Regions from separate parts of the Homo sapiens genome. Here regions 1, 2, 3, 5, 6 and 7 are each linked to region 4. The links are contacts of gene promoters, found by promoter capture Hi-C in blood cells and fetal thymus (Javierre and others, 2016). All regions are on one chromosome and are shown on one strand. Each heading gives the region's core, a stretch centred on a gene start or on the middle of the fragment in contact. The rest is flanking DNA. Distances are from core to core; before and after follow the strand shown. Region 1 has its middle 52 kb from the start of MIR10522. Region 2 has its middle 70 kb from the start of LINC02111. Region 3 overlaps BASP1-AS1 (BASP1 antisense RNA 1). Region 4 holds the start of ZNF622 (zinc finger protein 622). Region 5 overlaps BASP1-AS1 (BASP1 antisense RNA 1). Region 6 overlaps BASP1 (brain abundant membrane attached signal protein 1). Region 7 overlaps BASP1 (brain abundant membrane attached signal protein 1).

What was found. The method cuts DNA at HindIII sites, captures the fragments that hold promoters and counts their contacts. A CHiCAGO score of 5 or more calls a contact.
Region 1: a contact is called between a fragment that was not itself captured here and the fragment with the promoter of ZNF622 in region 4, in 2 of 17 cell types (M2 macrophages and M0 macrophages). The highest score is 7.0, in M2 macrophages.
Region 2: a fragment that was not itself captured here is called in contact with the fragment with the promoter of ZNF622 in region 4 in 1 of 17 cell types (total B cells); the score reaches 6.0 in total B cells.
Region 3: a fragment that was not itself captured here is called in contact with the fragment with the promoter of ZNF622 in region 4 in 2 of 17 cell types (megakaryocytes and M0 macrophages); the score reaches 9.4 in megakaryocytes.
Region 5: a contact is called between a fragment that was not itself captured here and the fragment with the promoter of ZNF622 in region 4, in 2 of 17 cell types (M0 macrophages and megakaryocytes). The highest score is 6.8, in M0 macrophages.
Region 6: a contact is called between a fragment that was not itself captured here and the fragment with the promoter of ZNF622 in region 4, in 2 of 17 cell types (naive B cells and total B cells). The highest score is 5.3, in naive B cells.
Region 7: a fragment that was not itself captured here is called in contact with the fragment with the promoter of ZNF622 in region 4 in 1 of 17 cell types (total B cells); the score reaches 7.6 in total B cells.

Annotation. Positions count from the first base shown.
Region 1 is chr5:17,102,471-17,105,913 of GRCh38, reverse strand. No RefSeq gene overlaps it. Among named protein-coding and RNA genes, the nearest start is that of MIR10522, 52 kb to the left of the region's middle. The HindIII fragment of the contact is 2,036 bases long and covers 283-2,318 here.
Region 2 is chr5:17,315,815-17,319,453 of GRCh38, reverse strand. No RefSeq gene overlaps it. Among named protein-coding and RNA genes, the nearest start is that of LINC02111, 70 kb to the left of the region's middle. The HindIII fragment of the contact is 5,802 bases long and covers 1-3,639 here.
Region 3 is chr5:17,186,634-17,189,930 of GRCh38, reverse strand. All of the region lies in intron 1 of BASP1-AS1 (BASP1 antisense RNA 1), which reads left to right. Among named protein-coding and RNA genes, the nearest start is that of BASP1-AS1, 29 kb to the left of the region's middle. The HindIII fragment of the contact is 3,942 bases long and covers 1-3,297 here.
Region 4 is chr5:16,464,443-16,468,148 of GRCh38, reverse strand. It overlaps ZNF622 (zinc finger protein 622), which reads left to right and starts at 2,349. Exons shown (of 6, transcript NM_033414.3): 1 at 2,349-3,108. The coding sequence starts at 2,484. RefSeq lists enhancers at 510-599, 630-689, 2,972-3,041 and a silencer at 942-1,164. The HindIII fragment of the contact is 4,211 bases long and covers 634-3,706 here.
Region 5 is chr5:17,167,416-17,170,685 of GRCh38, reverse strand. The region is part of intron 1 of BASP1-AS1 (BASP1 antisense RNA 1); the gene reads left to right. The region is part of intron 2 of LOC105374664 (a long non-coding RNA gene); the gene reads right to left. Among named protein-coding and RNA genes, the nearest start is that of MIR10522, 13 kb to the right of the region's middle. The HindIII fragment of the contact is 1,542 bases long and covers 1,080-2,621 here.
Region 6 is chr5:17,273,232-17,276,592 of GRCh38, reverse strand. It overlaps BASP1 (brain abundant membrane attached signal protein 1), which reads right to left. Exons shown (of 2, transcript NM_006317.5): 2 at 1-1,385. The coding sequence starts at 1,376. The coding sequence ends at 693. Among named protein-coding and RNA genes, the nearest start is that of BASP1, 57 kb to the right of the region's middle. RefSeq lists an enhancer at 459-959. The HindIII fragment of the contact is 6,227 bases long and covers 1-3,361 here.
Region 7 is chr5:17,219,711-17,223,375 of GRCh38, reverse strand. All of the region lies in intron 1 of BASP1 (brain abundant membrane attached signal protein 1), which reads right to left. Among named protein-coding and RNA genes, the nearest start is that of BASP1, 3.9 kb to the right of the region's middle. The HindIII fragment of the contact is 2,320 bases long and covers 510-2,829 here.

The DNA.
Region 1 (3,443 bases), core at 51-2,550, 640 kb before region 4:
CGCCCCCACTGTACTCCAAACCACTCACTGCCTTCATCTTAGGATGGAAAATAACATCCTCAGATGGTTTACAAGGACTCTGCAATGTCCCCTTGCTCCCATGTCATCTTCCTCCACTCTCCCCCTGCCTTTCTTGCTAGCCCTTGAATAGCCCCAAATATGTTCCTGCCTTGAGGCCTTTGCACTTGCTGTTCCCTCTGCCTGGAATGCTCTTTGCCCTACATATCTGCACAGCTCACTTCCTTCTGTTGTCATTTCAAATGTCACCTTCTCAGGCAAGCTTCTCCTGTCATCCTACCACCTTACATTATATTTTTGTTTATTGATTTATTAGATGGCTCCTGCATTACAATGTAAAGTAGGTAACACGATGGCCTTGGCTGGCAGGGCTCACGCCTGTAATCCCAGCACTTTAGGAAGAAGAGGTGGGCAGATCACCTGAGGTCAGGAGTTCAATACCAGCCTGGCTAACATGGTGAAATCCCGTCTCTACTAAAGATACAAAAATTAGCCAGGGGTTCTGAGGGGGCACCTGTAATCCCAACTACTCGGGAGGCTGAGGCACGAGAATTGCTTGAACCCGGGAAGCAGAGGTTGCAGTGAGATGAAATCGCACCACTGCACTCTAGCCTGGGCGACAGAGCAAGACTCTGTCTCAAAAAAAAAAAAAAAAAATGTCCTTGGCTTTATTCACCACTGAATCACCAGCACCTAGAGCCCTGAAGACACGGGTCTCAATACATATTTATTGAATGTGAAAGGACTGACCTCCAAGAGATTCAACAGCAAGCAGGTCTCTCATTCTGACTGAAGATTTACTCATCCAATTCATTCATTGCTAATGTCTTCTTTATCAGTCTAGTTATCATTTTTTTTAAGCGAAAGCAAGTTTATTAAGAAAATGAAGGAATAAAAGAATGGCTACTCCACAGGCAGAACAGGCAGTCTAGTTATCATTCTTAACTTTCTTGTATACTTAAAAATTTCCTTCTGTGCTTCCCACACATGACTCCAGATTTCTTTCCTCACCAATATTCTGGGATACTTTATATCACCTTCTACTCCCTGACCCATTTTTACAATCGTCTGCAGAACACTACTTAACAAATTGTACAAAGACATCTAGCCTTACAAATGCCTCTATAGATCAAAATGTTTTCCAGGGCCGGGATTAAGAAAAAAAATGTGGGCTGGACGCAATGGCTCACGCCTGTAATCCCAACATTTTGGGAGGCCGAGGCAGGTGGATCACCTGAGGCCAGGAGATCGAGACCATCCTGGCTAACACGGTGAAACCCCGTTCTACTAAAAATACAAAAAATTACCTGGGCGTGGTGGCACGCGCCTGTAGTCCCAGCTACTCAGGAGGCTGAGGCAAGAGAAACGCTTGAACCTGGGAGGTGGAGGTTTCAGCAAGCTGAGATCACGCCACTGCACTCCAGCCTGGGAAACAGAGCAAAACTTAGGAAAAAAAAAAAAGAGGCGAGGGGGAAAGAAGGAAGGAAGGAAGGAGAAAGAAAGAGAGAAAGAAAATGCTTTTGGTTGGGCATGCAGTGACTTGCACCTGTAATTCCAACACTTTGGGAGGGAGGGGTGGGAGGATCACTTGAAGTCAGCAGTTCAAGACCAGCCTGGGAAACAGAGAGCTCCTGTCTCTACAAAAAATTAACAAAATTAGCTGGGCATGGTGACACGCACCTGTGGTCTTAGCTACTCGAGAGGCTGAGGTGGGAGAATCACTTGAGCCAGAGAGGTCAAGGTGGCAGTGAGCCAAGATCAGCCATTGCATTCCAGCCTGGGTGACAGAGCAAGACCCTAAAAAAAAAAAAAAAAAAGAAGAAGAAGAAGAAAAGAAAAAGAAAAAAAAATGCTCCTTAGCAGCACACAACCTCACCTCATAAGGTTTCAGATCACTTCTCCCACCCACACCCCCACCGCCCCCCGCAAAGTGCCCCCACTGTAACAACAGATATATGATTTTGCACTTTCCGTCATCTTGACCCACATAGGTAGCAACCCTTCTTTGGATTCTGCTGCAGCATTGTGGTGGTCCCCTGAAACTAAGGGGTAAAACGTGCTTCCAGCAAGATGCATGATCTCTACACAAACCAACAAATCCTGCTGCTAAAAAGCCAAGAGGTTGGATGTCTGTATCGAGTTGTGGCTTGCTTTTCTGTTCTTTCTTAAAAGTATTGACAAAGCAGAAGGTCAGTGCTATTATGGAATTTACATTTCTATGAGAAAGATAAGGAGGAAGCAGGATGAAAATGCTGACAGGGTTCCATTGTAAAAGGGAAGAACGCTGAGAAAGAGAAGCTTGCCCTGAGACCATTTTCAAATAATAATAATAAACTCATCAGCAAGAAGGATAACAAAGAGAACAAAGAAATCTGGAAGAAATGAAAATAATGGAATTCACTTTGATTTTATGGCTTTAATGCATAATAAACATGCTAGAAAATATCAAGTCTAACCCACACTGGTCCTTGGCTCCCTGTTTCTTCCACTCTTCTTTTCTTTTTTTTTTTTTTAAACAGAGTTTTGCTCTTGTTGCCCAGGCTGGAGTACAATGGAGTGATCTCAGCTCACTGAAACCTCTGCCTCCGGGGTTCAAGCAATTCTCCTGCCTCAGGCTCCGGAGTAGCTGGGATTACAGGTGTGTGCCACCACACCCAGCTAATTTTGTATTTTTAGTAGAGACAGGGTTTCTCCATGTTGGTCAGGCTGGTCTCAAACTCCTGACCTCAGGTGATCCACCCGCCTCGGCCTCCAAAGTGCTGGGATTACAGGCATGCACCACCGCCCCCAGCTCTTCCACTCTTTTCTATTGGCAAGACTGTCTTACTCTTCTGGAATTGTCCCCACTCTAGAAAAGAGATAAAAAAGGAGAAAGAGGCCGGGTGCGGTGGCTCACACCTGTAATCCCAGCACTTTGGGAGGCCAAGGCGGGGGGATCACCTGAGATCAGGAGTTTGAGACCAGCCTGGCCAACATGGTGAAACCCTGTGTCTACTAAAATATAAAAATTAGCCCAGTAAGATGGCAGGTGACTGTAATCCCAGCTAGTCTTGAGGCTGAGATGGGAGAATCACTTGAACCTGGGAGACGGTGGTTGCGCTGAGCCAAGATCACACCAGTACACTCTACCCTGGGCAGCTAAGCAAGACTCCATCTCAAAAAAAAAAAAAAAAATGGAGAAAGATACTAATTCCTTTCAGCCACTCCAGCAGCTCACTAGCACAGGTATGGGGCTTCCTGCCTGGCTTGGAAACCTGACTCTACCTCCTGCTAGCTGTGCGTCCTTAGGCAAGCTACTCAATTTCCCTCTGTCTGAGTTTCTTCATCTGTTAGATGGCAATAATATTAGGTTGGTGCAAAAGTAATCACGGTTTTGCCATTTCTTTCAGTGGCAAAAACCACGATTACTTTCGCACGGAACTAAC
Region 2 (3,639 bases), core at 69-2,568, 850 kb before region 4:
CCTATTGTCACTATGGAATCACTCTGGGGGAAGTGTACTTGGAAATCTGTCTTCATTTTCCATTTTCTTACCTGAATACATAAAAACCCTGAGGTTTGGATAGTATTAGTAAACCAAACTGAGAAAACAAACATAAAAAAGGATACTATTTTCTGGCCGGGCACAGTGACTCATGCCTGTAGTCCCAGCACTTTGGGAGGCCAAGGTTGGCAGATCACTTGAGGTCAGGAGTTCATGACCAGCCTGGCCAACATGGTGAAACCCCATCTCTACTAAATTAGCCCAGCATGGTGGTGCATGCCTGTAATCCCAGCTACTCGGGAGGCTGAGGCACAAGAATTGCTTGAACCCAGGAGGCAGAGGCTGCAGGGAGCTGAGATCACTGCACGACATTCCAGCCTGGACAACACAGTGAGACTTTGTCCCCCCCGCCACCCTGCCCCCCAGAAAAGAAGTCTAATATTTTCTGTATTACCTGGTAATAAAATTCAACAATTTAAGATAAAATTATCTATCTGCTTTACTCTTCTACTTTCTAATACCAACGAATTTTCAGGTTGGTTCATGGTTATGGTCACTCAGTCAAATGAAAGTCCTTGCCTTCCTTCATCTCAGTAATCATCGTTGCCAGACATTTAGCTTCCCATTGAATCTGTTATAAAGATCACAACACAAAAGTCACCTTCATCTTTCACTTCCCTTATGGAACCCCCCTTTTTGTGGGTCTAAAAAAAGACATCCTTCTGCTCTGAAGATCAAGAGCAGAAACCATTCTTCTTTTTTTTTTTTTTTTTTTTGAGACGGAGTCTCGCTCTGTCGCCCAGGCTGGAGTGCAGTGGCGCGATCTCGGTTCACTGCAAGCTCCGCCTCCCGGGTTCACACCATTCTCCTGCCTCAGCCTCCGGAGTAGCTGGGACTACAGGCGCCCACCACCACGCCCGACTAACTTTTTATATTTTTAGTAGAGACGGGGTTTCATGATTTAGCCAGGATGGTCTCGACCTCCTGACCTTGTGATCCGCCCGCCTCGGCCTCCCAAAGTGCTGGGATTACAGGCATGAGCCACCGCACCCAGCCTTCTTCTGGTTCTTAATTAGGGCACTATTCAGTCTCCCTAGTTTGGATGGATGGAATGGGATGGATGAAGAGAGAGAGAGATATATCAGATGGACAAGGGATGGATGGACGGATGGATACATTGATGGGTGGATAAAGCAAAAGTAAGAAAATGTTAAGAATCTGTTAAATCTAGTCGGGTGCATATACAGGTATTCATTGGACTATTCTTTCAACGTTCTGTATCTTTAAATTTTTTCATTAAAAACTTGCAAGAATAAAAGGTCATTGGTATAAACACAACAAAGGCCTTTTTCACAGTATTGCCATCTTTTCTCCTCCCAAACTACTCACGCCTTCCCATCATCTCTTCACCTGACACTGCCTTCTTCTTCTCGTCCCAGGCAACAAGGAAGTAAAACAGTTTCCTGCCTCTCACTGTGCACATTCAGAAAGTTGCTCTCTGTAGAGAGAAAATTTTGTCTAAAACAAAATTTTTACTAATAATCAACCGTGATTTTTGTTGAACTGTAGACCTCCACTTGTATTTGTTGCCATTTGAAATTTCCATAGTGCTGTTTCTTCTACACCCTTTATTGCTGAATCCGGAACTCAAGCCAGTCCTTCCCTCCTTATAAGACACACGTTCGTGCACACACACAAACACACACATTCAGTTCCCCCTCCTCCACCCCCACTCGGCTACACTGAGTCAAAGCCCAGCTGGCCCTATTAGAACGGAAAAGGAAAGCAATGAAACAGACCACACAAATATTCTAAGACTGGCTCCTTGGAAGGAAATTGAGAATTCATTGACATCTCCCCAGGGAAAAATAAGTGAAATTGTGTCATTGTCAGACACTCACATAACTAAATTAATGTGAAATTAAAATCAAAATGAAATATTCCTCTTCATGTTAAAAGTAGTTCACTTAAGTAGTCCATGTACAATTGGCCGCTCCTGCAGCACATTATTAAGTGATTTAAAAGATTAATTTTAACACAGATCACAGTTTCAGTGGTGGTTATGCTAGCATTAAGCAAATAAGCATACTGTCCCAGAAAGAAGCTGATGGTTGCAGGGCAGAAGCATCTTGTCTTGCCACAGGCAGTACAATTGCGTTCATACTTCTTGCTTCAGTTTGCAGTGTGTGTATGAGCCTTTAATTCATGAAACATTAGGAGAGGATCTTTTTCAGGAAGTGAGAACCCGAAGTTGACAGACACATAACCTCATCTAGAATGACAACTAACGAGTTCCTAAACCACAAATATTCATTTCAACAATTTGCAATAATCTACCGTGTGCATGCCAAAGCATTCTAGACAGAACAAACAGTAACAGGCCGGCCTTTGCCCCACAGCATGTTCCTCTAAAAACAGATCCATAATCAAATGCTAAGAAAATACATGCCCTCAACCCTGAAGCAAAAATGTGAATGCAAGCTACACGGGGTAATGTTCCCTCTGGACAGACACCAGTAAATCCAGTTTGCATATGAAAATCGAGGCTTCTTTGCTTCCCTGCACACGATGCTAAAGTGAAGGTCAACAATCTCTTTGACCCTGAGTTCCAAGAAGATGGGAGACTATCAGTGACAACGAATGACACAGACTGAGTCCTGGCCTCAGATGGGAATGAGTGTGGGGGGGTGGGCATGGAGACAGAGGAGGAGGATGAAGGAACAAAGGATTTCAAGCGGGGTCAGCAAACTCTTTCTGTAAAGGGGCAGATAATAAGTATTTTAGGCCTTTGGGCCATATGGTCTCTGTTGCAATGACCCCAGTTTGCTGTTGTAGTGCAAAGCTATAAGTGAATAGGTGGAACTATGTTCCAATCAAACTGTATTTATGGACAAACACTAAAACTTAAATTTTATATAATTTTCATCTCTCATGAAATACTATTCCCCCTTTTTTAACGTTTAAAAATATAAAAATCATTTCTTGCTCACCAGCTGTACCATATCAGTCAAGAAGCTGACTTTGCCCATAAGCCGTAGATTGCAGACCCCTGATTTAGAGCATTGATTCTCAGACTTGAGCATGCATCAGTCATGTACATTGATGAGAGCAAACACAAATCCTTGGGCTCTGCCCCAGCGTTCCTGATCCCACAGGTCTGGGATGAGCCTAACCATATGCATTTCTTACAAGTTCCCAGGTGATACTCATGCTACCAAGAACACAAATGGAGAACTATGGTTTAGAGACAAAGTAACAAGACGGAGAAGGGAGGAAAGAAGTGCCCATGGCCAGGCGTGGTGACTCATGCCTGTAATTTCAGCACTTTGGGAGGCCAAGGTGGGTGGATCGCTTGAGGCCAGGAGTTCAAGACGAGCCTGGCCAACATGGTGAAATGCCGGCTCTACTGAAAATACAAAAATTAGTCGGGTATGGTGGCGCATACCTGTAGTCCAGCGACTCAGGAGGCTGAGGCAGGAAAATCACTTAAACTCAGGAGGTGGAGGTTGCAGTGAGCCAAGATTGTGCCACTGCACTCCAGCCTGGACGACAGAGAGAGAGAAAAAAAAAAAAAGGGCCCACGTTGGCCAGGATGAGTCAGCAATAATCATTTGTTTG
Region 3 (3,297 bases), core at 428-2,927, 720 kb before region 4:
CAACTGAGAGCTAGGAGAGGCATGATAAGACCCAGGAAAGAAACTACAGCAAGGCGCCCTCATGTCGCTTAGAATACAATGCAGGTCCCTGTAGCTCCTGCTCCCTGAGCCTCCTGGCACGCCTGTTAAACAACCACTGCCTTATTCACGCAGAGAACTTGCCATGCTGGGGTCGCCCAGGGAAAGTGAAGTTTTGGTCAGTGTTTTGGGTTGAATTGTATGTCTTCTCCGAAAAAATATGTTGAAGTCCTAACCCCTCTTTACATGCCAATGTGACATTATTGGAAGGAGGGTCTTTGCAGTTGTCCTCAAGTTAAACTTCGGCCACTAGGTGGCGCTCATCCAATGTGACTGCTGTCTTTATAAGGAGAGGAGATTTGAACACTGAGATGCAGAGACAGAACGCGGTGGGACGACAGAGGGAGAGAGGGGGGTGATGCGTCCACTAGCCAAGGAACACCAAGGACTGTTAGCAGCTGGGAGAGATGGAAGGAGCTCCGGAAGAAACCAGGCCTGCCCACACCTTGATTTCAGACTCCTGTTCTCCAGAATTGGAGAAAATAGATCTCTTGTTTTAGGTCACCCAGTTTGTAGTCCTTCATTATGGCAGCCCTAGGAAACTCATGACCAAATCTGGAAAAAGTAGGCCGGGCACGGAGGTTCACGCCTGTAATCCCAGCACTTTGGAAGGCCAAGGTGGGTGGATCACCTGAGGTCAGGAGTTCGAGACCAGCCTGGGCAACATGGCAAAACCCCGTCTCTACTAAAAATACAGAAATTAGCTGGGTGTGGTGGCGGGCGCCTGTAATCCCAGCTACTCAGAGCCTGAGACAGGAGAATCACTTGAACCCAGGAGACGGAGGTGGCAGTGAGCCAAGATCGTGCCACTGCACTCCAGCCTGCACAACAGAGCAAAACTCCATCTCAAAAAAAAAAAAAAAATGGAAAAAGTAGAATGGAATTCTGGGAATGATAATCAAGAGAGGTTCAACTGCTGAAGCACGAAGTTTTAAGGCTTTTTTTTTCTGTGTCTTCTCCTTTTCTTCCCTATTTTCCGGTCTACTCAACCCCGATATTCCAATTTCTCAATATGAAATATTATTTTTAGTTATCTTTAAACGCACAGCTGTTGGTGATTTCTGGAGACATGCCCATTTTTTCCAGTCCATTTTGTAGATCTCCTCAAATACCTAAAAACTTCACAGTCCAGTTGGCATTTTTAAAGCACTTTGCTCCTTTGAGTTGCTCAAATTATTTGACATAAATGTTCCCTTATTCATGTCAGTTTAAAGGAAAAGATAAGTACAGATCTTATTTTAAACCTCAGGAAATATACAGCAAAGTTAAGCATCTTATAGTAAATCACGTTGCCTTTCAGCGAGTGAGCAGAGCCTGGTGGACGGACTCCCAACTGCCTGTATAGTCTTTTTAAAGTATTATACAATTATATTTTATTCTTTATTACCCACCTACAAGACAAGAATGAATAAATCCTCCAAAATGGTGGTCACTCAAGAGTTGCCTTTTGGGGACCTTTCTCTTTTTTTTGATAGAAATGCCTCTGATATTTTGAGAATTCATAAAATCTCAAACAAAATGGAGCGAGTACCTTGTCATGTTCTAATTCTCCAGTAACCACAAGAATCTTCCTTCCTCTCCATTCCATTCTGAGAAAGAGCCACTTCACCTCTCAGAATGATGGGAAAGATAAGGCACAAGCCAAGCCAAATCTTCTCCCCCAAATTCCCTGGCTCTACACGTCCCTGGGACAGGAAGGTCTCAGCTCGCTGACTTGGGCATCCTCTGTGTGCCACAGGTGGGGGATCACCATAGAGAGCCCTCGGTCGGACTCCCTCTGCCCCTGGCATTCTGCCTCCCAAAGTTAAGTGTCATCTTAAAGATGGAGCCACACCAGGGAAAATTCCCTTATCCTTGCTGTGTTTCAGCAGAAGTGAAACAGACTGGAATTTCCAAAGCTACTAAAGAAAGGAGAAAGGGAAATCAAAGAACATCAAGAAAATTTAACAAGCCTAAAACTCAGAAGCACAGAAACATGGCTGAGCGTGTCCACCGCTCACAGGCCCTGTGCCACCCCTCCTCCAAGCTCACGGGCTTGGTTCACATGATCAAGACCACCCTGTGGCTTCCTTGCTTCCCAGCTACAGAGTCATGGCCACTGAAAAGTGCCACCTCACCTCCCTGCCAAGTCTGTGTCCTAGACAACTAACTCCCTGGATCAGGGGCATTACTGAACTAAGACCAAATCTCCAGATGAGAGAGAGATTATCAGATTCTTCACATGCGATCCAGCTTGTGGGAATGCGGGTGGGGTATAGGAAGTGGTTCAGCCCCATATGGATCCTTATAATGGAAGAATTATGAAAAATATAACCACAGAATAAACATGACAGTCACACAAGATGAGTCAGGTACACACCACAAACTGTGTAGGTCTCAGTGAAAGTAGACTATCTGGCTGAGGTTGGAGGGTCCTAGGCTAGTGCTACGGGGAGACAAGGACATGGTAGACAGGAAGGAGGTGACCCAGGCAGGGAGAAGGAGCAGATAGATTAGGAGGTTGTTGCCAGAAAGTGGGGCAGGCCTGTGGTAGAAATGCATGCCCCAGAGTTAAGGAAGCTGGGAACTGTCAGGAGCAGGTTGTGTGGTGCCAAAGAACACTGACATTTTTCAAATGGTGGGGGATTTGAAAAGGCAAGTGAGCAGCCCAAATGTGATCATAGTTAACGTCGACTGAGTTACACCAGAAATGTGCTAGACACTTCATATGGATCTTCTCATGTAATCCTCACAACAACCCCATGCTATAGAAGTACTGCCGTCCACATTTTATAGAAGAGTTAACAAGCCTTCAAAAAAGTAACTTGACCAAAGTCTCACAGACTAGTGAGTACAAAACCGAAATTAGAACCCACATCATTGGATATTGAAGCCGGAGCACTTAACGCTATATATGCGCACACACACGAGCACACGTGCACGCACACGTGCACACACACACATACACACACACACATCTTAAATATCAAGGACTCTACAGAGCAGGGGTATTTTCCAAAAGGAGGAAGAGTCATAGATTGCAAGTGATCATGGAGTATTGGCGTAAATGGGTCCCCAACCCAGTAGATGAAATGTGAAAAGGGGGAAGCCGGGATACTCTGGAGAGAGCAGAACTTCAGCTAGGGTGCGCATTCTCTGAGACTGAGGACACAGAAGGAAGTATCCACTGAAGAACAGGAATCCCAGACAGCCCAATGGAAAGGGTTGCCATGAGAGTAA
Region 4 (3,706 bases), core at 1,100-3,599:
AAATACTGAACAGTTGATCTGCTGGCACTGTTCTAGCATTAGGGTATACAACAAAGGAGTGCTTGCTGTCATGGAGCTTATGTTCTATCTAGACGCAGATGACTAACATGCAGTGTGACTAGACATCCTGGTTTGCCCAGGATTGAGGGATTTCCTGGGATGCAGGACTTCCAGTGCTAAGCCTGGGAAATCAGTGACAACAAATGCTAGTGGTAGCTGATCTCCCAATGATCCCCTAAAACCACCCTGCCCCCCACTTCCCACTTCCTGGTATTCATGCCCTTATGTTAACCCTTCTCACATTAAATAGGGCTGACCTGCAAAAGTAACAACACATTGTGGAAACGACTGTGTGACTTCCAATGCTAGGTCTATGAATTTCATGTGGCTCTCTGCTGCACTCAAGCAGCCCTATGGAGAGGCCTACTTGTCAAGGAACCAAAACCTCTTGCTATCAGCTATGTAAATGAACCATCTTTAAGGGAGACTCTCCAGCCACAGTCAAATACAGTCAGATCTTCAGATGATTTTAGCCCTGGACAGCATGTTCACTGCAACCTCTTAGGAGATCTTAGTCAGAACCACCCAGCTGAGTCACTCAAATACCTGACATACAGAAACTGAAATAAAGCTTGATGCTAAATTTGGGGGTAATTTAATACAGAGTAGTAGATAACTAATACAGTACTGGAGAAAAGTTATGCCTGGTAAGGACTTAGGAAGGTAGGCACTATTTTTGGTAAGTGGATTTGGATAAGCCTCTCTTACAAAGGCATTTGGGCAGAGATCCAAAAAATAAGGAAGCAAGCCAGCAAAAGGATGTTCCAAGCAGAAGAGTAATGGATTTCTGACTTTCTGACTTAGTACCAACTAAAGTGCTTGTTAGAAGAACATCAAATGTGTCATTGCGACTCAAGTAGGGTGAGCAGGGTAGAGAAGGGGGTGTGGCAGGACCTCAGAGGGAGGGGTAGAGCCTCGGAGAATAGAAAGTAAGGTGTTTGAATTTGATTGAGTCAAGGGAAGGCACTGGAAGGTTTTTTAAAGCGCCATCTTCTTTTGGTTTTCTCTTGGCAGCCTGGATTCTGAGCATGCAACATTCGACTCTAACAAGGCTGACTCTGGTTCAACCAGGCTGTGTGGATGAAATCTACGACCTCCCCAAGCATTTGAAGTTCATGTTTTCTTTTTCTTTTGAGATGGAATCTTGCTCTGTTGCCCAGGCTGGAGTGCAGTGGCGCGATCTCGGCTCACCACAACCTCCGCCTCCCGGGTTCAAGCGATTCTCCTGCCTCAACCTCCCAAGTAGCTGGGATTACAGGTCTGCGCCACTGCGCCGGGACTAATTTTTGTATTTTTTAGCAGAGACTGGGTTTCGCCATGTTGGCCAGGCTGGTCTTGAACCCCTGACCTCAGATGATCCGCCCGCCTCGGCCTCGCAAAGTGCTGGGATTACGGGCGTGAGCCACCGCGCCTGGCCTGAAGTTCTTTTCTACAGAACTTTGCTGTCCTATATACATGAGGGTACACAGCCAACTGGGCACCTGGCACGGGTCTAGTCCAAATTGAGATGGGCTGTTAACTCTAAAACACACACTGGATTTCCAAGACTTAGAACCAACGACAGAGCGTAAAAGATCTAATTAATTCTTTTAGACTGATTACATGCTGAAATGACAGGATGGGCTAAATTAAACACATTAAAAGCAGTTTCACCGATTTCTCTTTACTCTTTAAAAATGTGGCTGCTATTAGAATTACCTACGTGGCTTGGACTGTGTGTCTACAGGGAGCTCCTCTCGCGCACTCTGTGCACTCAAATTCCGCCGGTGTCCTCCGCCGGAAGGGCCGCCTCAGAAAGGCCGAGCCCCCGGCCTGGCTTCTCCGGTTTCCCGGGAAAGCGTTGCAACCACGGGCGAGGGCTCCGAGGTCGGCCCCGAGGGGTAAGGGCAGCCCTTGCCTTCGCGACATCCATTCACCCGGCTCCGCAGGTGCAGCGCGCGGTCCTCAGAGAAACCCCGACCCTCGCGTCGCTGACCCGACCATTCATTAATCGGGGGCTTCCCAGGGCCCAGGAGCAGCCTCGGGCGCCCCACTCCCCCATTCTCGCGTAGCCGTCCCCTTGACCGCGTCACACCGAGCGGCACAACCACCAGGGAAGGTAACTGGGAGGGCGCGACCTCCCTCAATCAACAGCCACCTCGGGCTGACTGAGCGGACCCAGGTCCCTTTCAGCCACAGCGTTCCCTCGGCTTCCTGGGCCTCACGGCGGCGGAGGCGTGGCCACAGCCTGAGAGGCGGGTTTCCTGTCCAGTTGTGAATAACTTCCGACGTGTGCCGGAAGTTTCCTCAGTGACAATCAGGAAGTCGGCGTGTCGAGTGGCTCTTCCTGGCTGCTGAGGCGGGTTAAGGTCTGAGGGTCTTGTGGGGCCACGGCGCTGATCACCAGGTGTTTGGCTTGGTCGGTTCTTATTTCTCGCCTGGCAATGGCGACGTACACCTGCATAACTTGCCGGGTGGCGTTCCGCGACGCGGACATGCAGCGGGCCCACTATAAGACGGACTGGCACCGCTACAACCTGCGGCGGAAGGTGGCCAGCATGGCCCCAGTGACCGCCGAGGGCTTCCAGGAGCGAGTGCGGGCGCAGCGGGCCGTCGCGGAGGAGGAGAGCAAGGGCTCGGCCACCTACTGCACCGTTTGCAGTAAGAAGTTTGCCTCTTTCAACGCCTACGAGAACCACCTCAAGTCCCGGCGTCACGTTGAGCTGGAGAAGAAGGCCGTGCAGGCAGTGAATCGGAAAGTGGAGATGATGAATGAAAAGAACTTGGAGAAAGGACTGGGCGTGGACAGTGTGGACAAGGATGCCATGAACGCGGCCATCCAGCAGGCCATCAAGGCCCAGCCGTCCATGTCTCCCAAGAAGGCGCCCCCAGCGCCTGCAAAGGAGGCCAGGAATGTCGTGGCCGTGGGTACTGGTGGCCGTGGGACCCACGACCGAGACCCGAGTGAGAAACCACCCCGGCTCCAGTGGTTTGAACAGCAGGCGAAGAAGTTGGCAAAGCAGCAGGAGGAGGACAGCGAGGAGGAGGAAGAGGACCTGGATGGAGACGGTGATGGCCCTGTCTGGGCGGGGAGGGTAAAGAGGAACTTGGCCCACCCTTAAGTTTCCAGATTTATACTCGAGATGGGTGTGTGTGTGTGTTTGAGAGCTTTTAAGTAAAAATGATGAGGGAAGGTGGTTTAGACGCTTTCTGAAGTGCCTTATCTGGCCAGCAGGTTTGGCTGTTTAGTTCACTCAATTCATTCTCCAAGGCCTAAAACCTTGTCTGGAAAAAGAAGTGCTTAATGCATATTTGGAGAATGAATTGATGCCTTCTGTGTTTTGGATGAAGAGGCTTTTAACATATGCACAGGAGGACATGCTATCGTCATACCAGCTGCCGTGTAATTTGCGATTCTAGTGGGTTTCCAGTTATGATGGTTTTGCACTTAATTTAGTTGAGTAAAACAGAATGAGGGGATCAAAACCAACTCAGCCAGAAATTTGGAGCTGGAGCCAGCACCCTCACCTCTTTGCCTTTATGAGCTATTTATTCCTTACTTCCCTCATCCCACATCCTATTAACAGTGCTGGTGTAGGTGTTCATGTCTTAGTCTGTCCACTCTGCTATAAGGAAGTACTAGAGACTGGGTGATTTATGAACAACA
Region 5 (3,270 bases), core at 601-3,100, 700 kb before region 4:
AAAATAGGGCGTGATTAGTATTATGAAGGAGGCCGGAGTGTTGTACTAAAATATCTTCCCTGAGCACCTTCCTGAAACAGCTCCTGAATTGACACCTCAGTGAAAAATGCTACTTTCACTGAGAGAAAAAAAGACAAAAACCTGGAAATGCCTTATAAAAAAAAATCTGTTGTCTGTGTTTCAGGAAGTCTCTACTGATTCTAAATTTCACCTCTGATCCGAACCCTGGTGGTCTGATGATATTACTTCCTACTTCTGGGACCTCTACCCTACGAAACCCACCTCTCACTGAAACAAGTGGATATCTTTGTGGTTGCTGCCACGGGATTTAAGAGTCCTTTTTTTTTTTTTGATACGGAGTCTTGCTCTGTCACCCAAGCTGGAGTGCAGTGGTGTGATCTCAGCTCTCTGCAACCCCCACCTCCTGGGTTCAAGCGATTCTCCTGCCTCAGCCTCCTGAGTAGCTGGGATTACAGGCATTCACCACCATGCCCAGCTAATTTCTGTATTTTCAGTAGAGACGGGGTTTCACTATGTTGGCCAGGATGGTCTTGATCTCCTGACCTTAAGAGATCCTCCTGCCTCGGCCTCCCAAAGGGCTGAGATTACAGGCGTGAGCCACCACGCCCAGCCTAAGAGTCCATTTGAAGCATTTTTATTCTAAGAAAATTTATTTCCATATGTAGTTGGGATGAAAAGTCTATGAAATCCATTCAAAACAAAGGTGCTTTCAACTATACTGTTTGAAGTTACAGTTTTGTTTCTTCCCTTATCCTGTGCTATCTTAAGCCATATGTTGTTGTAAATTAACAGGAAAGAGGGCATTTAAAACAAATGGTTTATGTGAATAGCATTAATCCCGTCAAGACTAGTTTGTGACAAGGGCTAAAGATTGCACTCTTGCCTTTTAAGCTCAACCAAGTTAAACATCTGAACTATTTCTGCTGTCTTGTAAATATTAAGATGTAACACGTTTCTGATGTTTGTTGACATTTGTTGTACTTTTGATGAACAATTAGCCTGCAAGAATATTAACAGGAAATTCCATTCATGAGATAAGCAGCTGTTTGTGCAAAGCTTCAGCCAGATCATGGGACCAAAAATCTTCTTTATGCAACTACTGTTTGTTGAATAGTCAGCATTCCTTGCATGTTCAAAAGGAAATGCTTTGGAAATAACTTTTATGGCTAATTTTGACTTTTATATTTTCGTAAGGAGAAAATAACTTTCATGGTTAATGTTGACTCTTATACTTGCAGGTAGTAAAATAATGTCCTTTATCACCATGTAAATTTCAAACAGTAGTCATTGACAAATCCCTAGTAATTTCCAAATTGTAATGCAGAATCCTAAGGCTGGTGTTAAGATCCCTGAGTCCACGTCATATCATAATGCATGATTATTTTATTGAAATAAAAACCTACAATTATATGAAACACTCTCTCTCTCTCTTTTTTTTTTTTAGACAGAGTCTTGCTCTGTCACCCAGGCTGGAGTACAGTGGCACAAACATGGTTCACTGCAGCCTCAACTTCCCAGGCTCAAGTGACCCTTCTGCCTCAGCTTCCAGTAGCTGGGACCATAGACACGCACCACCACACTCAGCTAATTTTTAAAATTTTTTCTATGGACAGGGTCTTGCCATGTTGCCCAGGCTGGTCTTGAACTCCTGGGCTCAAGCAATCCTGCCTCTTTGGCCTCCCAAAGTGCTGGGATTACAGGCGTGAGCCACAGAGTCTAGCCAAGAACGCTCTCTAATTCAAAAATGTTTCTTAGGCCAGGTGCAGGCTCACACCTATAATCCCAGCACTTTGGGACCGAGGTGGGTGGATCACCTGAGGTCAGGAGTTTGAGAGCAGCCTGGCCAACATGGGGAAACTCCATCTCTACTAAAAATATAAAAATTAGCCAGGCATGGTGGCACATGCCTATAGTCCCAGCTACTCAGGAGGCTGAGGCAGGAGAATCGCTTGACCCCGGGAGGTGGAAATTGCAGTGAGCTGTGAGCTGAGATTGCGCCACTGCACTACAGCCTGGGCGACAGATCAAGACCCTATCTCAGGAAAAAAAAAAAAAAGTTTATCTTCCATATTTTGAGCTGTTAAAACATTTCATGTAATATTCACATAGCAACATGTATTTAGTATCCACTAAATTACTGGAGATACAACTCCAAAGGCATTTGGAGAGAGGAAGAAGACTGACAAATAACTAGGTAGATAATTTTGCCATCACAGAAATGATGGCAGGTCTCTAGAAGCACTAAGGAGACAAAATTGTTTTTCATGGCGGGGTGTCTTATCAAAGATTCACTCAAAATTCATCAATCATCAGTCACCAAATCCTGTAGAATTTACCTCCTAAATACCATCCCCTCTGCCTCTTCCTCTTTATCTCACTGTCCCGACTGCCCCCTCTCCTCTCACTTGCAAAAACCTATCTGCTTCTATCTAGCCTGCCTGCTTCTCATCTCTCTGATACACCATTAAAGCCCAAACTTTCTGGGTCATGTGGCCCTATCAGTAAAAGATTTCTGACCAGGCATCCCCAGTATGACACTTATTTATCAACTCTACACGTGAACTGCTTGCTCTCAGTCATGTGTAAGTATCAGTAAAGCTTAGTGTCTTCTTTATTTTTTTTCAGATTAAAGAATACATCTGTATCCAATTTTCTTGCATACTTTTAGGGGTACAGGCCTCCCCTGTAACATGAGAGACCACTGCTCAAAAAGGCTACAAGAGAAAAGTTTCTGAAATGATATCAACTCATAATTAAGACTCTATAGTCTTTCACTTTGACTTTAAAATAAGCTCAAGGCCCTTCTGGGTTTCCTTTTTTGCCCATGATAGCCTCAGACCTGGCTATAGAGCTAAACAGGGGAATGCTCAGATGAACAGATGCACCTCTCCATCCTCACCCCTCATCCTTTTTCATGCATATCCAGGCCTTTGCTGGAGTCCAGCTGACCTCTCAGCAGGGAAGGAGTTAAGATAGAACAGGCACTGACCACTAACAGCAGTTCTTGACTGCCCTGTGCCAAGTGGTTTTCCAGTTGAGAGCACCCCTGAGGTTTAATTGGCCAAAGTCTGAACTACAATTTTTCAGAAGGATTAAGAAATGTCCCTTTTAAAGCCCATTTCCAGGAGTGTGAGGTGATTATATGACAGATAGGAAACGAGCCTAGGCATCTTTTACCTGCTCCAACTGGCTAGAATAATCTAGCATAAATCCAAAAGGTAATTCCAATATGCATCCCATCACCTAAAC
Region 6 (3,361 bases), core at 81-2,580, 810 kb before region 4:
CCACGGACATGCATTAACTCGTCATGAGAAATCTAGGTAGGCTAAGTAGGATGAGAGAATGTTTGTCACTCCCAAAAATATCTGGAGAGGAAGAATGGAGGATTGGCATTGAGATCCATGTGGACAAGCTAAGTGGGCTCTGTCTGAAAGCTGGCATTCATCCACAACATTAAAAAAATATCAAAATAAGAAAGGCTGTAAATTAAAAAGAAAACACAGAAAATACTGCTCTCATAAAGATCTGATTGCCTTGGCACAGGCCCTGTGGGCAGAATCAAACGCATCACTCCCAACTCCCATTGCAGAAGAAAAGCTATTCAACTCTCAGCGGTGGAGGAGTGCATGTGGCGGCAGTTTCAGGTACAAACGATGTACTGCACTTTCAGACGCGGATCTTGGAAATCCAGGACTTCTTGGTAAAGTTGACTGAAGGTATATTAGATATTTCCCCACAAAAATACTATTTGGATTCTCCCACCCCCTCCCTCCCTTGATGGGACAACATCCTGTATTTTTCCTTGGGCAATACATATCATTACTTCCAATTTGAAACAAGTTAGTATAGGAGAGAGAGAGAGGAGAGATAGGAGAGGAGAGAGAGAGAGGAGATAGAGAGAGAGATAGAGAGAGAGAGAGAGAGAGAGAGAGGAGATTGTTTTAAGTGGTATTGTTTTTCCTATAGGCTGTCCTTGTCACTCTTTCACGGTTACGGTTTGGTCGGAATTAGCTGCCGGGGCCTCCACCGGCTTGGGCTCTTCTGCAGAGGCTGCGGGGCCCTGGGCCTTGGGTGTGGAACTAGGCGCTTCCGTGGCTGCGGGGGTCTCCTTGGAAGAGGGGGCAGCCTCCGAGCTGCCGGGTTTTGAGTCTGAAGCTGGGGCCCCGTCACTTTTGGTCTCCTGGGCGGCAGGAGCTGCGGGCGCCTCAGTCTTTTTGGGTTCCCCTTCCTCCTTGCTGGGCTCCTCCCCGGCGGCAGGGGCCGCGCTCTCGGCCGGGGCCGCGGCGGCCTCAGCAGCTTTGGGGGCCTCGCCGCCCGCAGCGGGGCCGGGGGCCGCCTGCTCCTGCTCGGGCGCCTTCGGGGGCTCAGCCTTGGCCTCTGCCGCGCCCTCCGTCTTCTCGGGCTCCGCCTTCGGGGCCTCCTCCTTGGCAGCCGCCGCGTCCTTCTCGCCCTCCTTCTCCTCGGCCTTGCCCTCGGCGTCCTGGTCGGGCTTCTCCTTGCCCTCCTTGGCCTCGGCGGGCTCTGCGGCCGCCTGGGGCTCACTCTCCTTCGGGGTCCCCTCCTCTTCCGTCGCCGCGCCCTCGGCCTTCTTGTCTTTCTCCTTGGCTTTCTCGTCGTTCACATTGTAGCCCTTCTTCTTCTTGCTGAGCTTGCCTCCCATCTTGGAGTTCTGGAAGCAAACACAAAACAAAACAAAACGGCGGTTACTAGGCAAGTGTGGGGACCACAAAAAGCTGCATTTTGCAAAGCAAGGGGTTCTGGGCCTGCTGCACTGCACACCCCAAAGGGGTGGCATGGTAAACTATAGTTAGGCACAGTTAAATTCAATTTATTCATGTATTTATTTTTGAGACAGGGTCTCGCTATGTTACCCAGGCTGGAATGCCGTGGTGAGATCTCTTCTCACTGCAGCCTCCACCTCCTGGGCTCAGGGGATCCTCCCGCCTCAGCCTCCCACACAGCTGGGCCCACAGGTGTACCCACCACGCCCAAGTAATCAGTTAAATTATTATATTACACTGTTATTACACAATTAAAAGTTAAAAATTTTAAAAAGAATCAAAAACATTAAGGAGCTCAATTAAGTGAGTTCTGCAATAATTTTAAATGAGTTTTTAAAACAATGTGTCACGAAAAGAAATTAAGGAGCTCAGTTGTGGAGCTTCTAATCATAGCCAGTTGAGGGAATAATAAGCTGAGATCAAAGAATCAGTGATTAGAGGCAAAGTTTGTCAACCCTGGAGAGGAGGAGCGCTATCTGTTTTTCATCTGCAATCCCATGTCTGATGCAAACACCAAGCGTGGAACAGGCATGTGCAGCATGGCAGGGGCAGCCATCTTAGACCCAGGTTAGAGCTAGAGAAAGGCGTTGCAATTTTAAAATGCTTTCTGGAGAAACTGCACAGCTGTAATAAAGCACAAATCACAGATTTCTAGAAAATAATCTCAAACTACAAACTCTCTCTGCTACATATGTGTGTGTGTTATATCAGCAAACACATCTTCAAACACGTAAGGTAAACAGGATTCAGTCTATCTTCTTACCAAGCAGGGGCAGTTATGAAAAAGCCAGTGTCTCTTGCTGGCTGTGTCTGACATAAATTCATTTCAAGGTATTTTCAGCTTAAAAAAAGTAGTTCTATAGTAACATAAAATTGTTGTTCATTATCAATTTCCTGGTTAGAATTCAAACTATACATGCACGTTCAATGGTCATTAACAACTGTCTTAAGGCTGCCGCTTTCATTCTGGCACAAGAAACTCCATTTGTATTTGAATCTTGAAATTCTCTCCTCTGAAAACCAAGCATTAAACCAGATAAATAATAAATTATAAATTTATAAATAATAAATTTCATCCAGAACCATGGCCAGAGCTAAACAGACTCTTGGTGCATTTTTTTTCCTTCAAGTCCATTTTTCTGTCACCACACATCAGTGAAAATCCACTGAAATGTTGCTTTTGCAAAGAAAATGGTTGCTTTTCCTGGATGAAGCGTGGCAGAAATCACATTATACTATCCTCGTTAGTCCCATAAATGAGAAAAGCCCAGGAGAGAGCATCAGCCTTGCCCTGGACCCCAAGGGAGGTTAGAAAGAGCAGGGGGGAACCACCTGGTTTTGCCCAGGTCAGGTCCACTGGCAGAACTGTACACACTCCTTTGCCAGCTTTGCAAATATATACATCCCTTATTTAGAAAAGAAGGATTTGCTGTTTATTACTTCCTTGGAATCAAGATTCATGACAGTGAAATAACCTATATTTATCTTATTAAAAGTCGAGTTTTTGGTGGAAGAAAATGAATTCTTCAGTCAAAATTTTTCTCACCATTCTATATGCTAATTTCTAATCTGGAATGACTTCAGTAGTTGGGGGAAGAGAAAAGCAATAAACTGAAATTTGACTAAAATACTATTCATATTCTCAAGAAAGGTCTTTATGATGTTACCTAAGATTCTCTTACATGTCCTTTTTTTTTAGAAAAGGGGGTGGCAATTGGTCATAACCTGCTTCAGACAGGCTCTATTGGATTTAATTTTTGATTATTTCTCCCTCAAAAGTAGAAACAAACATACATGGCAAAAAATACAATTAAATATACTTTCATCCTATAAGCAATCACAGAGCAGTACATGAAAATATAAA
Region 7 (3,665 bases), core at 420-2,919, 760 kb before region 4:
AAGATGCACTGAATATAAGGAGGCATTGTCCTAAGTGCATGACAATTTTGTTTAATACTTACAGTAACCATGTATCACAATTCCCATTTTCTAAATAAAATTGAGGCACAGAGAAGGTAAGCAATTTACCAAAGATCATACAACCAGTAAATGGCTGAGAGAAGATTCGAACCTGGTGCTGTGGCTCCAAAGTCCATCCCCACCATGCCTAACCCTCCAAATCATGCTTTCTAAATATTATACTCCCTACACAATGTACAAATTGCTGAAATATCTACTTCAAACAGAAGTTCAAAACACAAACCAATGAAGTCCAGTCCTGCCTCCTTCAAAACGAACCAAAAAAAAAAAGAGTTTATAAAATGCTTAAGTGATAAGGGGAAAATATTGTGTAAATGCTTTGCTTTCTCCACTGCACACCATTTTCCTATATTATCCTGAAGTGTTTCCTTATGCCCTGGGCCCCTGTGGTGCTTGCAGATGGTTTCTATTTCTAAATCTCTAAAGCTTTCAGGAATGTATTCCTAGACTTCCAAGCCTGCTCAATCACCACCTCTCAGCACTGACGGCCTTGTTGAGTCAAAAAATCTCAGCTTTCCCTATTTTTGTTCAAAAATGTACTGAGTATGGAAAGTCTGTAAAACATTAAGAAATAATTTTTTATGTTATTTAAATCCTTAGGGTGCAGAAGAAAAACACACTATTTCATTCTCTCTGCCTCCCATTTCATCCCATTTCTGACTTCTAGAGGGAAAAGGAGAATGCTGTTTTAATCACACTGCTTCCTTCTTAGGCTTGTGGCTCCTCAAAATTACAATTGAACTATATTCTGGTGAGAAATGGACTCTGTATGGTTGATTTTTACTCTTGAGAGCATTTACCAGACATCTGTTCTCATGTGACACTTACCTAGACGTCTGCCTCAAAGGCTGTGGCTGGAAAGGCGTTTCACAAAAGCCTTCCTTTGGCAGGCTGGGCACTGCTGTGGTTTCAAGACTACCCTTGTATTTTCTCAAGAGAACTTAAATGCCACTTCTTAAGTTACATAAGTATAAGTATAAGCAGACCTGGGGAATTCAAGGAAGGTGGCCATCTTGATATCATGAAATCCACTTTCAGGCTAATTCCCATATAATACAGAATTTCAAATATCTACAAACACAAGGACAGAAAATAGGAACCATGATATTTGGTCCCCTTTAGGATTGAGACATCCTACTTCTAACTTAATACTCCTGGGGTCCCCCGGGCTTCATTAATCAAGCTGGAACAAAAATACAGCTGAATATACTGAAATTAGTTAGTGATGTCAATTACACTGAAAGTGTTGATTGACACTTTCAGTTGTTGAAAACACTTTCAGTGTAATTGATATCACTAATTGAGACTGAGAGGTTGAGGAGCCCTTCAGAGCCAGCCATTCCACACTTAAGTCATTTTTAGATATCATATGTAGTTCTTATTACAACCCCAAAATAGGAATTATTAGATTCTTCAAATCCAGTCTTTATACGATTTCCTGAGAAACCACTCCAAAAACATTACCCCAAAACACATAAAGAGTACTTTATCTTTCAAAATATTCTATTTGCAACCTCACAGTTCCTTCCTAATAGTTGTCCACTATAATTAAGCCAAAGAAAAAAGCTCATGTTCACTGGCTTATCTAATGTCTTAAGAGATACAATAAATTTAAAGGATTAGATATAATTAGAGAAAATTTGATATAACAATAAAGATTCCATGCCCATTTTCAGAGAATATTCAAGTTGTCTATATATCTACTCAGTGTTTTTCCCCAGCAGTTACCTGGTTTCCAGGGTACCAGCTAAGACCATCATTAAGAAGAGAAAGAAGATGTGAAATAAGTAGGTACAAACTACATTAAGATAAAGGTCTGGACAAATCAACGCATTTCTTTCAACAGAATCAGATACCAAGGGCAATTGCTTCTGACAAATAATAGTTCACAGGTCTTCTTTGGATATTTAAAAAAAAAAAAAAAAAAAACATTTACAAGAGATCACAAAAATAAGACAGAACAATTTTATAAATCTTTTATTTAGTAGGCATTGTTTATTCCAGCTTGTAAAGTTCAGTAGTGCTTGATGTAAGTTTTTAAGCCTGTGGATGAACGTCTTAGCTTAATGCTCCAGGTACACTGGGATAAATGGGAAGTGAGCTTATTAATAGACTTGCTAGGCTTTCCCTTTCAAACACATATTTAGAAAGACAGAAATTGATTATGTTCCAAAGACCAGTATCAAAGCACTATAAAATAATATTCTATACCAACCAGTTTGATTTCAAGTTATTCATAAGATTTTAGAGTGTGTATAAACAAGTATGTGTATGTGTACATGTGTATATACATGACACCTTGTTTTTAAAAATGGGTGTGGATTTTGCAATTTTTACAAAACTACCGTAAATAACACAGACATCCATTTTAGAGTGATCAAATCTCCTCCAAATGAAAGTTTCTCTCTGATGTCATACTCCGCTTGACCATGAAATGAAAATGGCTTCAAACTGTTCTTAATTGTGAAATTAAAAAATAAAGAGACAGAACGCATCACCTCTTGCACCATAAGATCCAGGAGGATTATGGATCCTAGTAAATCCAGGATTATGAAGAGGCCTCCAAGGATAGACAGCCTAAATGTTTAGGGCTCTCCCATTGGACCTTTAAACTAGGGTGATGTGGGGAGATAAGGTTCTCTTCTACACGTCACAATGGCAGACTGAGTACCAGTTAAAGAACAGAAATGCCACTGTCATTGTTGGTGCTTTTTATCAAAAGGCTCAATTTCTCTATCTGCTAAAGCTTGGCAAAAAGCTAGCTGGCTAAAAGAATAAGCGAACTGATAGAAATATTTTAATTCTGTAATAATTTTTAAAAATCGATTTAAATATTATCTCACTCAAAAACCTAAGATTTACTGAATTGGGGACATGCTGGTATATATTTGCTATTGAATTTGTTCTATATTCCAACATACCCCTCGCCAAAAACACAACCTAAAGGAAAAGAAAAAAGAAAGAACGTAGCTCTCTAAATCATAATAACCTACTCAATACTAAGGAGTACAGAGGGTACAATCCATGCCACCTAGAAGACAGCTAGACAGCCACCGTAGCCAGTAGATGGGCCCTGATATATTAAACGTGGTCAATATCAAGTTCTCATCAAAAAGGACAAAAGAGATGATTTCCATTGCTGCCACGCGTTATTCCACCAGGATGTACTGACAGTACTTAAGCATAAAACCCTATTAAACATAACCTACCACTGCAAAAAATATCATATTTGGCTCCTATTTAATATACACAATAAGTCCCTTTTTGTGTGGTAAAAACAAACTACCTGAAAATAAATCTAAATGGCCATAACCTGGAAAATAGATCATCTGAAAGAAAATCAGCCATCAAAGGTATATCATGGCTTCTGTTAGGTAATGGGGAAAAAGGAATCATTGCGAACCTAATCAACCAGCTTCACCCCAACGACTGCCTTCTTTCTGCCCCCATCAGATTTCCATCTGGACGCCATTCGCCTTTTGGAATCCTTAATGAAACAATGAGTTCGGAGTCCAGAGAAAACAGAAAGGGTTAGGATCCCGACAAGGTAATCGTTTTCTTCTCTCCGGTTTTTGTAGGCCATC